Regions from separate parts of the Homo sapiens genome. Here region 1 is linked to region 2. Evidence: promoter capture Hi-C in human tissues and cell types (Jung and others, 2019). All regions are on one chromosome and are shown on one strand. Each heading gives the region's core, a stretch centred on a gene start or on the middle of the fragment in contact. The rest is flanking DNA. Distances are from core to core; before and after follow the strand shown.

Region 1 (7,075 bases), core at 3,602-6,101, 270 kb before region 2:
ATCAACGATTGAGAGAAATTGGGAACAAAGTACAGAAATAAATGAATGCTTATTCATATGGAATATTACCTAGACTCATTTTAAATTTTAATTAAAAAATTAATGATCTGACACATTGAAATCTCCATGATTACAGATTATATCAATCTTTCTGGAAAATAATCAAATGTCAATCATAGAGATAAATTTCCTATCATGCAATTTAAATGCTCTTATTAAAAGATTTCCCCACATTATTTAAATAGTTTTTGTGATGGTTAATTTTAGGTGTCAAGTTGATTGGATTAAGGAATTCCTAGAGAACTGGTGAAATATTACTTCTGGGTGTGTCTGTGAGGGTGGTTTCCAGAGGAGACTGGGGTGAGTCAGGAGACTGGGGTGAGTCAGCAGACTGGGGTGAGTCAGCAGACTGCGTGGGGAAGACAGACCCTCAGTGTGGCCAGCCATCCTTCAATAGGCTGGGGTCCTGGATAGAACAAAAAAGACAGAAAAAAGACAACTTTTTCTCTCTCTCTCTTTCTCTGTCATACATGTGCTCTTTGTCCTTCTGCTTTCTACCATGGGATGACACAGCAAGAAGGCTCTCGCCAAGGGCCTCTTGAGCCTCTAGAATTGTAAGAAATATATCTCTGTTCTTTATAAATTACCCACTTTCAGGTATTCTGTTACAGCGGCACAAAATGGACTAAGACAATTTCCCTCCTCTATTGTCCAAAATTGTGTTTGAAACACTGATCATCATGCTTATCTCCTTTTTAAGTTGGTATTTGGACAGTATGGTACGGGCTTTAGATCTACTGGAAGTGTGATTCCTTGCCATAACAGGTAGGAGGACAGTCATCCTCTTGCATTTGACAACAGGCCCTACTTTTAGGGATGTCCTGAAGAAACAGGAGAACTTGTTACTGCCAGTAAGAGGCTCAATCATATGAAAACCACCAGTTATCATTTTGAGGCAATGGATAGCAACCCTATAGAAAAGCCTAAATAATTCCACGCAGCCAATCCATTTTGTTAGTTGCCTGAAGGCTTTACCTATTTTCCTGGTTTGTCCTGGAGGGCTAGCTGGATGCAATGTTGCTCAAAGTTTTGTTTAATAGAAGCAAGTATTTCATGACTTCTGCCTCCACATTTTCAAGGCTCAGGAGACATCATTTATGCATTATAGAGTGTAACTCTGGGGCTTCCATTGTATATCTGATTGAGTACCTGAGAGGCACTAGACTCTAAAGCTATGGTGTTGCCCCCATTAAAGCAGACTACCAGCCAGTCTTATAAGATTATATCATCTTTGTCTTTGTTGTGCCTAAAAACAAGAGCATATTGATCTGCTTTCAGTCAACATCACACTATGCCTTCCCTTTAAATACTCATGTTAACTTTGGTTTGAATTTTCTGCCATGCAAGAAAACTGGCATCTGAGAAGACCAATCTAAAGGATACACATAAAATATTCATTACTCAAGATTCACTGCCTCTCCTTCAATAACTAAACTAGATCACCAAAGCTAGATTCTTGGAACATAATATTCTGAACATTTATAAAATTGCCCTTGTAGAACTGAACTATAATCTAAGACAATGCCCTGACTTCCACTGAAGACTTACATATGGGGGAAAAACTATGAATGAAAGATCTCCATTTTTTATGAGATAAAATGTACTTTGGAGGGAATTGTTTATTATATTGCTCAATGTTCCTGCATAAAGGACTAGTGAATATTCATAATATCTTTGCTCTTTATAAATGCAATAGAATGGAATGGAAACTCCTTGTTGTAGTTTGATCTCTCATGTACCCAAGTACTTGGGCTTTGCTCTATGAAATATAAAGCTGTTTGTCTTATGAACACTGGGCATTGTCCCCTGATCTGTGGGGATCTTATTTTTTATTTTTCATTTTTCTTGTGTGGAAAGGATGCAGAAATGAGCTGCCATTTTAGATTCTGTGTAATGAACTGGGAATTTGTAAGGCCTACTTTTGGAAGTAGCTTCATCACATGTGTGAAAAACACATGATCATTGTTGTGTCCAAAGCCTCCTTGAAGACAGAAATGCTGCTGTAATTTGGATCCATTTTCATGTCAGTAACGGATGCACTTTGAAAGATACTTGGCTCTTATGACCACAAACTATTTGGGATAAACACAATGATGATAGATATGACTGTGGTAGAAAAATTAGCTAAATGGATTTATAATCTGTCCCTGGACCTTAATTTTGGATATTGTCTGGATCCGGACTTCTTGCATAGATGGATGGAAGCTTATAATTTTAAATCCTAACTTTCTGAGAGTACTTGACTTTTAAAGTCTAGAGCAGCACTGTCTCGTAAAATTTTCTAGAACGATAGATATGCTCTCTGCCGTGTCTAAAAGGGTAGCTGCTAACCACATATGGCTATAGGCCACTTGTAATGTGGCTAGTACAACTGAGCAATTGAATTTCTAAATTTAATTTTAATTGGTTAAATTTAAATGGAAGCAGTCACACATGACTAGAAGTCACTGGATTAGACAGCACAGTATTTTGTACTGGACACTGCTCTAGAGTACATACAGTATTTGTAAAGTTACCAGGGTGCTAAGACTGGAGAGTTAAATTTTATTCCATCATAATCTTTAGAATATGGAAGAAACCATATAATGCACAAATGTGAATTCCTTATGATGACAAGCACATTGAAAGTAAGGAGCAGGTCCCATTAATCTTCACGTCCTTCATAGCATCGGTACAGTGTTTTACATGCAATGGATCATTATACATTTCTGCTCTGGTATTCTACAGCAGTGGGCAGAGGCTTAGACTTATGAGGCAAAGAAAATTTGAAACAAACATAGAAATTGTATGAAAATCATAGCAACTAAAACATGGCTGAGCTGAGGCCCTAAATGTCGCCCTGATTACCCACGCACTGATTTCACCATCAGTTAAAGCACTAACGAATACATAAGTGCACAAATACCTAAATAAATATTATTTATAAATAAATATTACACATAAGCTTTACACAGATACACGTGCTTCATGTAACTTACTCGTAAGACATAGATTTATTTCTCAAATCCCTAGAGGTGCCTGAAGGCTTCTGGTAATTCACCCCTGTCATGTCTTATTGGTTAATTATAGAGATGTATTTAACTTATTTATCACAAGAAAACAATAATCTTTCACTTTAAAAAAGCATGTGCTAATGGTGTTGCTTAGATAACAGTATTTCTTAAGAAGCCAGAGCACAGGAGTTAAGACTATCAAAGAAAGAGAATCACTGATATTGAAATGTCCCTGGAGAAGTTAGAAACGTCTATAAGCATATTTAAAATAAACTGCCGCGGTCCCAAAGCCTTTAATGGAGCTGGGAGAGCTGTTTAATGCACACTATCTTGCAGTAATCGCTGTAGTTTAAAATAGATTTTAATCAAGCACCATCTGCATAATAGGCTGAACAAACAACATAGAACTCCACTTATAACTCTTATCATATAAAGTAAATATTATAAACTCCTCTCCATAGAAACAGGGCATATAACAGCACTTTTTGTGATGTTTCAGTGAGTGAAAATTTTGCTACTTAAATTCATTCTCTCTTTTCTAAACTATGCCATCTAAAATCCCCTTATGAGAATAAATTCAAATAAGCATGGAAAGTAAGTCATCTAGTTACTGTGAAATCAGCAAGGCTGTAATACTTCTTTCATTTTACAATTGGGTTTATTATTATCTTTAATAACGATACACTCTATGACTCAAAACATCAATTATAGAAAAATGCATATGAAGTGCTATACTTTTGAAATGATTCACAAGTGTGGGGCATTGTATCAGTGTCATAGTTTGTAAAGCAATTTCATTTTTAAGGATCTTTGATTCTGCCAAACATAGCTGAGTATGATTTTTGAATGAGTTTAGCAAAGGCACTCAGCGGCCTTATGTGAAATAGGAAGTCTGGGCTAATGTCCAGAAAAATCACTTTAAAGTGATTTTTTAAAGAGAAAAAAGGTTGGTTGTTATTTTATACACCTACTGGTTAAATTTATCAATTTTAGGAGATCCACTTGATCTTTTCTAAATTCACTGATGTAGGGAAATATGTTTACTTCTTATTCTTTTGGATTGAGGGCTTTTACAGGCTTACAAAGAAGGCAAGCTGTTGAGGTGGGGACCCGCTGAATAAAATGCTAGGCGGCTATGTTAAGTCTCATTCTGTTTTTATTCCATGAATTAATTAAGTATGCTCAGTCATCTAGGGTATGTCTATATCCTGGCATAATTATTTACTTGAATAAATTTTAGGAAAGATGATTTGGAACCAGGTACTAAATGGCTGACTAAATTTTATCATTTTCTCCTGAACTAGTTTATTAGGCTCAGCCTTAACGAATAGAATACTTTTTTTTTAAAATAAATAAGGGTCATACATTAGTTTAATTGCTGTGATCTAATACATACTTTAAAAGTATCATACACATTATACTATATAAAGTGAACAGTTACAATATAAGTACAGTTCAATGATGACAATACCAGACTTCCAAGTCCCAGTTTTAAGTATTCTGTCCCATTGCTAGTTAGATAAAGTAACCTGACATTTGGTTCTAACACTGTTTGATTTCACTTAATATTTGTAGAAACCTGTCTGTTTCTCATTTCTACTTTATTCCAGGAGTCTTCTTGTCTTCAGAGCAGTGGTAAATAAAAACTCCTACTCTAAAGGCTTATTTAATTGCTGCTCTAGTGATTTATCCTATTTGCTTTGAGAAAAAAACCTCCTGCTTCTGTCTAGTGTGGCAGAGCACATGCATTGATGAACTAGCAAATTAGTAACAAACTCTTAAAGGCAAAAACGAAGTGAACTCAGAGACGACGCGTGTATTAAAGGCAGCTTTCATACTGAAGATATTGTTGAACCTCGTGTGAATTTGAGTTAAGAGTGCAATAGACAGAAGACAAACCCCATGCCTTACCAAAAGCAAGATGTGTAATGGGAGTGGTCCTGTTAAATCAAGACGTAAAAGATTAGACTGTCAGTGCAAGGGTGAAGTAACATTCCCTTGTATGTGACCTCCCAGAACATGCAAGAATGGCTGCTCTGGAACCTTGTTACAAATGCAGAGTGGAACAAAATCTCTTGTGTTCATTCACAAACAAAAGCCAGCATTTGCAAGATTTGTAGCCTGAACATACTCTATGTGGGTGGTCTGAAAAATTCAGGCCAAGTGTGGTTCTTGATTCTAATGGTTCAAAATATGTGGCAGAAACAAATATAAATCATCCCCAGAGAAATCCACCTTTAAACAAGCTCTAAAAGAATTCTTACAAAGTTTTCATAAATATTAATTCTCATTTCAAAAGTACAAAAAGCAAAATGAAACAAGCTATTAAAACCAACATATTCTGACTTCAAAATACTTCATGTATTGAAATTAGCAAAAGAGGGTATAAAACAAATATGTTGAACATGCTTACAAGAATAAAAGAGATTAAATACATGGGTAAAGAGCAAGCAACTAAAGAAAGAAGTCCAAACTCATTTGAGAAGGAACCAAATGAAACCAAAAATATAAAATATTTGAGATTAAAATTGCAATAGACCATTTCAGATTAGGTATAGCTGAAAAGAGAATTACGAGCTGGAAAATAAGTTAAATCAGAATGTAATACATAGGGGCAAGGAAGTAGAAAATATGAAAAAGAGTCATGGAAAGGAGAAAGTCTAATATTCATCCCCTGAGAATAACAGCATGAGAAGGGAGCAAGAATGGGATAGAGGCAGTATCTGAAAAAAATAAGGAATGAAAATTTCCCCAAAATGCTGATAGACAGAAATGATTACAATCGGAATGCATGCAAAGAAACCCACACATATCACCATGAAGCTGCAGGACACCAAAGACAAGAGAAGATCTCAAAAGCAGTCAGAGAGTAAAGTCAGGTTACTTTCAAAGGAAAGACAGTCAGGCAGTAAATTCTCAAAAGCAATAGTGAAAACAAGGATTCAGTGAAATAATATAATATCTTCAAAACGCTGAAAGAAAATAACTGCCAATCTAGAATTCTATACCTAGCAAATGTGTTTTTTAAGGTAAGCATGTTCCCTGCAGACCTTCATGAAAGAACATTTTAAAGGCATAAAGAAAAAGATGTCAGGTGAAAGAAATATATATGTGAATAAATCCAAAGGAAAAATAACTTCATAAAATAATTAAAATAGTGTTTCATGAGGTTTATTCAGTTACAGAATTCAATTAAACTATAATTAGAATGAACAACAATAACAGCTCCCAATATAAATTGAACGGAAGGTGTATGTAGTTAAAGTAATCTAAGAAAAAAGGTAAAGATATTGGTAAATTTTAGACCTCTATATAGCTGTATTCCAGGGACAGCTACTGAAAGAAGAGAAAGAATATAAAATCTCTAATCTCAAAATGGGAAATTATGTAATGAGAAAAATAAGAGCAATCTTAAAGAAGATGAGGAAAAAAAAGAAACATAAAATATTTGTGGCATAAACAGAAAGTAACATACTTAGAAAAACAAGCCTATTTTCATATTTATAGTAAGGTAAATGCAGTAAAGATTTCATTTTAAAGTAAAAGCTCATTTAACTACACGAAATTTATAAGAGACACTCAGATAAAACATGGATATTTTCAACAGAAAAGCAGAAAGTAAAAGGATAGAAAAATATATAATGTGATTCTTACCCACAATTTCCTTAAAGAGAAAACTGTGCCAAAAATGTGATTGTAATGTCAGATACTTTATGTGTCTTAAAGTATCTCTTATATTACAAATACGGGATTACAGGCTTAGAACCACAAGCTGCCTAAGTTTGTATTTCTTTGATGCTTTACTGTGTCTCATTATGACTTAAGGCTGTCAACACAGTTTCCTAGCAATCAAAATCGCGGGTAGTGTTTATAAGGTGATAATTTATTTTACTGATGTATTTACAATATTCCTGTCTGTCAAAACAGACTTATTTCATTTAATTGTTCAATTAGATGAGCTGGAATCAATATATAATTGCTTAAAGACAGCACAAAGTGTTAAGAGGAAAGCTTTAAAAGCT
Region 2 (6,948 bases), core at 4,211-6,710:
CTAGCAAAAGCAAGGGTGGTCCCAGGAGTTGGAGTGGCTGGGAAATGGGTAACTGGGAAGGAGATGGAGAGGTGGGAGGTAAGAGGCGCTGGGCATACTGGTAGACCTGCGACTGAGGGCTGGCTTTAAAACAGAATAGGAAGAATCATCAGTATTTGAGAAACACCCGCAGGGTCTTTTGAAGTTTCTAATGTCCTAGCAAAAGTTTAGAAAGCATTATAATAAATCACCCTTCACAGCTAAATAAAATCACTGTGCTCCCCACTACCTTCGTCATTTTCTAGGCCAACCCTCTTGAATGGAGCCCATCACAAAAAACGTATGACCACTAGAAATAGTCTCACATACCAAAACCAACATTTGAGAACCAGGTTGGTACCCAGGAAACCACCCCTAAAACTGGAAATTTCCCTACTTCTTCCTGTTCCACTGTTCTTAATTCCCTTGCAATCACATCATTTAAACAAAATCCACAATAATCATTCAATTAGATATTTACATATTAGTTTAGTTTTTGTAACTAAGCAAAATACCAAAATTCTCCTTAATATCATTTACTAACTTTTAAAATATATGATAAACTGTGAGAATACTAAACTACCTATGCAATGTTAAAAATAACATCAGATCCCTCTATAGCTCATACTTATAACTTTGTTTGCATAGACATTTAAAATTGAATTTGCAATACTGAAATAACCCACACAGTCAAGATAGCTACATTTGAAACTTTTCTATAATATCTGATTTAGTGGCCAAAAAACCATGATTGCTTGGTTTATGCTCTTTCTTACATAGGCATTTATTTAAAACATATTTAACAACCTGAAAACTTCTGAAAAGTGCCAGCTGATAAAACTCCCAGGGGAATTTTAATTATATATATGTGATGTATGAATTATCAACTATGAATTTCCCAAAGTCCTAGAAGTTATGGAGGTGGATGAAGAACTAATCAAGCATGATGCTCTAAACTGCTTATAACCCTCCCTTCTTTACCTTCTTTCTTCCCATACTCCTCCTTGACCTACTCTTCCTCCCATCTTTTCCTTTTTCTTACATTTACTGTTCAAAATAGGAATAATGACTCCTTCTTAATGTGCTTACAAATCCTGTATTTTTGATGAGTATTGCCACATTAAAGTATAATACATAATACATTTTAAATAGAAAATAAGCTCAAAGGAGATTTTGCAGAGACTGTAATGAATCTCGTTATTCTTAAAAGTTATCAAATGTCTAATGTTTGTCCTGACATTTTCAAGCAGAGTTCATCACAAATGGGTCCTTCCTTGTGCGTTTTTACGAAAAAGAACATATACACTGTCCTTCCTCATTTCAATGATAAAAGCTGAATATTCCAAATGCCCACTATTCTTCACTCTGTATATCACCAGCATGAAGCATGGGTTTGTGTTTTGGACTTCCCTGTTTCTAAATCAACCAAAGAAAGATTCAGGACATGATTCCATAAAGGCAACCACTGAGAACAGTGAAGCCCATTATTTCTCCTCCCACTGCAGGCCGAGGTCACCATCCCTGTCATTAGCCATGTCATAACATAATTGTATTACTACTCCTTATGTGGGCAGATACTGAGCAATAACTGAACACATCACATCGTTGTAAAAATGAAAAAGTACCACTTCTTTGTCCTATCTTAGCATAAAACCAGTGAAAACAATCTTTGGAAATGACGCTGCACTAAGAAACTGAAAAGAACTGTTATTACTCTGTAGGTATATATTTAAACTGATGATCTGACATCTTTAACTAGAATAGAAAACAAGACTATATCACTACAGAACTCCAATTGTAAGCTCATTTAATCCAATTTATTTTGGTAGCATTCAGCTCAATTAAGGGATACAATGTTACTTAAAATAGTCTAATTAGATGAAACTCCACTATGGTACTCATCTTTCAATGTCTGAAATATAACCATGCATTAGGCTGCAAGAGGTGAATACTGTTAACTCCAGCCTCCATGTGTCTGTCCAGTCTATGAGCTACACTGCTATTTCCAACACTGACCTATATACAGCAACATGCCATCCGTTCTGGCTGTTTGTGTAAGAGATGCCTCACACACTTGCCTTAACCAACATCATTCGCATTGTTCCCACAATGGGCTATGTGAAAATGGAGGCTACTTTGCATAGTGATATGTTCATAACGTGTATTAGTCTTACAGTAGAGCAATACTAGATTAAACCGTTTCCAAAAATGCCTCCTCCAGAGTTTATTAACTGAAAAATGTAAGTAGCATTTTGGCAATCTATAGAGCAGCAGTGCCGGAAAGTGTCAGCAGAGTAAAACAATCACATTTTAGTTTAGAAAGCTTCAGGAAGAGAATATTCATTTTCTCCATTAGAGTCTCTTCTGACATTGAAAAAAATGTCACCGGGAAACTGTAGCTACAGTTGTAGGATTCTAAAGCACAGATAGATACTGGTTCCGCTGGGATTTAGCACACCAACTTTAAATAAGCAAAGTGTTGACAGGTTTAAAATAAAGATAATTAGTAATTTATGATCTTATCACCCTATTAAAAACAAATCACCTGACAAACTGACTGCTATTTGTAGTAAGCTACATATTCATTACGCCTCCGAAGGAAGCAAGATTTACTTTGCAGTATTGTTCTTTTGGGGATGTCTGATCCAACTTGTTTTAATAAATGTAGGCACAGATTTCTTACTTCACCTTTTCCAAACTTCTGTCCTTCTTCCATTTCCCTGCAAATCCACTCATGTCATTGCAAAAACAAATGCTAGTTGACTGCATTATGCACAACTACAATTGTGGAGCTGGACAGAAATTTTGTACCAATGCTAATCATGGTGGAGTGAAAAAACTCAAGTGCCTGGGATTTGTGGGGCCTAGAAAACTATCCAGTACATTTAATATAATCGGGACCAGTGACAAATATATCTGATGGACTGCTACACAGAGATGGGCCAGAGATGTCCCTGGAGAAACATTTCCATGAAGTCTTCTTCCACTATTAGAAACATGTCTTATGACTTTGGATTTTAAAAAATCTATTATTCTCTGGATAAGTTAAATAGAAGACTCGCAACTAGTCTACAGAAAGGGTGCCTAATTTGCATTTAAAAAGAACAGTTTGCTTCTTATACACGGGGTGACTTAAAAGGAACTTCAATGAGCTAGTAAAGAAATTCTGAATACTTTCTAAATTAATTTATTCAATTCACAGCACAACCCACTAAAATTATTTAAAGCACTTAATTGGAAAATGATTTAATATATTGAAGTAATTCCTGATTTTCCAAAGCATTTAACTTTTAAATTAAATCTGACCCTACTTATCACAAGAACGAGGAGTGAAATGTGTATCCAAGTCATTAACTTCTTTTTGGGGCCTAAAATCACTGATAAACTTAATAAGATTTGTCCAGTCTCATTGCCAAAATAGTTCTGAGCTTTTGGTTCCGGTAACTACAGTGGAATAAGTCTTTACTCTCCAAGATAGGGCTGCAACTTTATTATTTTTTATTAGCAATAGTATTGGTGTCATAAGCAAAATAAAACGTAACACAATACTTGAGTGTACAGACAAAACAGATTTTAGACTAAAAGAACTATGTCACCAGCAAATAATGAAACTTCATCACACAAACTCCTATGCGCTTGCCAAAGTTCCCCGTACCTTTCAACTTGCCCGTAGCTGAAGGGCTCCCTGTACAATGGAAGCCCTTCTGCCTTGCTCAAGACTGGATGTCCCTCTTTTCTAACTTGCCTAAACACCATCGGCACACAGCACAGTCCTTTGAGTGGGTCTCACACTGGACACAGCATCGAGGAGCTTCTCCACGGGGAAGTGTGTGTGTGAGAGCCTGCCTGTGTGTCAACACTGTCCAAGACTCGGAGCTGCGACTCGGTCGCGTGGTGCGGAGTCCAGGGCTGAGAAGGCAGCGCACTAAATATCTCTGTATCAGGTAAAAAAGCCGTTTGGTGATGACTCGCCACCAGGCAAATGTTGGGAGTCCCAACGATTTTTCCCGTGGAATGCACCGAGGGTCGCCATGGATGTGCCTGCAGGGGCTGTGAGTATCAGGCAGATTTATCACCAAGCGAGAGTTGGGCGTCTAAAAGGCCCGCCCAGCGTTTTAGAGAACTCAATTCTCTCTGCCAACGTTCATCCAACGGGACTGCTTAGACACGTCCAACTAGCCCTAGGCGTGGGCAGTCGTGCCCCTGCGACCACTCTGGGGGACCGGTCCCTGCGTGTCCTCCCTCTCTGGGATGAGAGAGTTCGAGAAGCCGGGAGAGTAACCCCCTCCCTCGTACCCCCTGACTGTCCTATAGGTGGACCCAGCCGAACTCCGCAGCAGCCCAGGCCAGCGCCCCACCTCCGGGTCACCGGCATGATCCGCCTCTCCCCGGGCCCCCGCGGCCCTGGCACCCGAGGTCAGCGGGCCGTGGGTACAGCTCAGCCGCGGACCCTGCTCCGCGAGTGCGGGAGCTTTGGACTTGAACGCGACGTGCTCGCCCGGCTCCCAACAAACTTGCAATTTCCGCGCGCACCCCTTAAACAGGAACTGTTCCCCAAACCTTGACCCAGCTACCCCGCTGTGCTCTGGCCCGCGGACCTGTGTCCGAACCCGGGCTCGGCTGCCGGAACCGGTTTGAGAAAACAAAAGAGTTGTGGGGCAGTTTTCCCTGTGGGGGGCAGGGGCGCCTCCCAGGTCCCTGCACCCCGACTCCCGGCTGCTCCCCTGGCAACTAATCCGGAGAAGGGAAGTGGTGCCACGAGCCCCCACTGCCCGGGGAGGGAGGGAGAGAGAAGGGGGAACTGGGAAATAAACTGAATTCTCTTACTCTGCCTCCGTTCCTGGACCCCAGACACACCCCCAAAGTATTCCACGGTTTTCTCTTATTATTTTTTTAAACGCCCCCCGGCAAACCTAGGCAGGGATCCTTAGCCGCGAACAGCAGGAAGGAAAGAATCCGAGCAAATCGTGTCACTTTCCGCACAATCGCGGTGTTTGGCAAGCCCCCGGAGCTACTCCACAATATTTACTACCCAAGCGCACGCAGGCTGCAGCGGGCTGCGAGCCGAGCGCGCCCGGGACCGGCCTCCGCCAAGCCGGCCCCGCCGCGGCCCGGCCACCGCCGCTCCCCTCCCAGGATCAAGCAGCAAGAACACGGTGGAAACAAAAGCAGAGCGTTCACCTTGTTGCAATAGTAGGGGTCCAGGCAGGGAGAAGGTCCCAGACAGGGAGCGTCGGGCGCAGCGGCGGGCTGGGCTGGAGGTGGATAAAATCTTACGTCCATTTCACTCTCACATCAAGCAACTCCTTTTCTTTTTCCTTTTTTAAAAAAAAGTGTTCAGCAAAACAAGCTTAGACGGAACAGAGTGAGGTGTCTGGGCTCAGGAGTAAAAGAAACACCTTCCTTCCCTCACATCCGTTTGTGGTTTGTTTAAGAAGAAGAGGAAAAAAAAAAAAAAGAGGGGGGAAAAGCGCTCAACTCTCCCCCAAGCCGCGGCGCGCACCCGTCGGCGCCGAGCGCGCAGCCTGCTCCACCGCCGCCTCTTGGTCCCGCCGCCGCCGCTGCCGCCGCCGCCGGGCAGGTAACTTCATGCGCTCATTGTCCCCCCCGCCCGCCCCCCCATCCCCGCCTCCCGCGCCCCTCGCAGCCCGGCACACGCGCTCGGGCTCTAGGTACTGGGCGTTTTATTGGAGATTCTGAGTTGTTCTGCTTGTAGTTTATTTTCTCCACCTTGGAGGCCCGGGATGTGGGGGGTGGGGGGGTGGGGCGGGGATCCAGAAGGGACAGGGCGGGAGGGGGGCGAGCGTCCCGGGCCGGGCGGGGTAGGGAGCGCGGCCGGACGCGGGCTCGTCAAGGCCCAATGGCTGCTGTTCGGAACCAGAGGCCGGGGACCGGAGAAAGGAGGAGCGGAGAAGGAGAAGGAGGAGAGCACGGCCTGGCTGGGACAGAAGCGGTGGGACCCTGGGAGGCCTCCGCTGTGCCCGTGCCGCGCTCCTCGGGACCAGCGCGTCGCACACAAAGGGGCTGCCGAGCCAGAGCCACCAGCGGCCTCAGGGCACCGTGGGGAGCGCGCAGCTAGGGGGCGCTGTGGCGCACCCCGCCCCGCAGCCCCGCCCCCGGCCCTCCCCGGCCCCACCCCACTCCCACCGCCCTCTCCGCGGCCGTCCCCACCCCTATCTCCGCGACCCCCACTCCTCCTCGGCTGTTCCCCAACCCTGTCACTGTGCTCCCCTCCCTACTCCCGGCCCGTAGTGGAGGTGACTTTCCTGCGCAGCGCCGCTTCTGAGGGCGGAGAACCCACAGGGAGTGCGACCCCTTTGCACGCTGTGAGTGGGCAACTGTCCGAGGGACTCGAGCCGATCGAAGGGTGAGGACCAGCTCGCCTGGGGGTGGACGGCCTGGAAAAGCCGCCCCTCTTTGGCTTCCCTCTGCCGCCTGCAGCCCGCACCCCTCCGAGATTCGTGCCCCACTGGACGGTTTGCGAAGGCTGAGGCTGCCTTGGGGACTCACAAAAGACCACAGGGGTGATTCGAAGTGTAAATAGGGAAACAATCATCAGCACACAATCCGGCTAAAGGGATAACATATGAGTTTGCTTGTTGTCCTTCATGGGATTCTTCTCTTTTTATAGCTGGACGCCCTATAGGGCTCTTGGCAGTCCACGAAAGACCTGGAGTCCGCCTCCCCATTTCTCCGGTCGGTGAGTGGCAGGAGGAAATCGCCAAACATGTTTTCCCGCTTTGCCTCCCCAACTCGGAAACTTGCAACTTGCCGTGTCCTGGAGGTTGAGACAATTTGGGGTCTCTTGGCTGCCGTCCAACAGATTTATCTCTGAGGGCAGTGTCCTTGGTGAGAGGTCCAAGTAGGTGTGGGCGACATTGTCCTCCATCTCATGAGGGAGCAGCCCTGCACACTAGGGCCCAAAACTCT

The links. Contacts are between HindIII fragments. The study calls those that stand out against the background at their distance.
Region 1: a fragment that was not itself captured here is called in contact with the fragment with the promoter of TOX in region 2 in 2 of the 25 tissues and cell types used here (lymphoblastoid cells and small bowel).

What each region holds. Positions count from the first base shown.
Region 1 is chr8:58,841,836-58,848,910 of GRCh38, forward strand. All of the region lies in intron 4 of TOX (thymocyte selection associated high mobility group box), which reads right to left. Among named protein-coding and RNA genes, the nearest start is that of NSMAF, 190 kb to the left of the region's middle. RefSeq lists an enhancer at 1-846. The HindIII fragment of the contact is 4,434 bases long and covers 2,635-7,068 here.
Region 2 is chr8:59,113,687-59,120,634 of GRCh38, forward strand. It overlaps TOX (thymocyte selection associated high mobility group box), which reads right to left and starts at 5,461. Exons shown (of 9, transcript NM_014729.3): 1 at 5,200-5,461. The coding sequence starts at 5,301. TOX-DT (TOX divergent transcript) reads left to right here and starts at 5,524. Exons shown (of 3, transcript NR_149031.1): 1 at 5,524-5,599; 2 at 6,271-6,385; 3 at 6,650-6,948. RefSeq lists silencers at 2,098-2,147, 5,986-6,205. The HindIII fragment of the contact is 9,409 bases long and covers 3,855-6,948 here.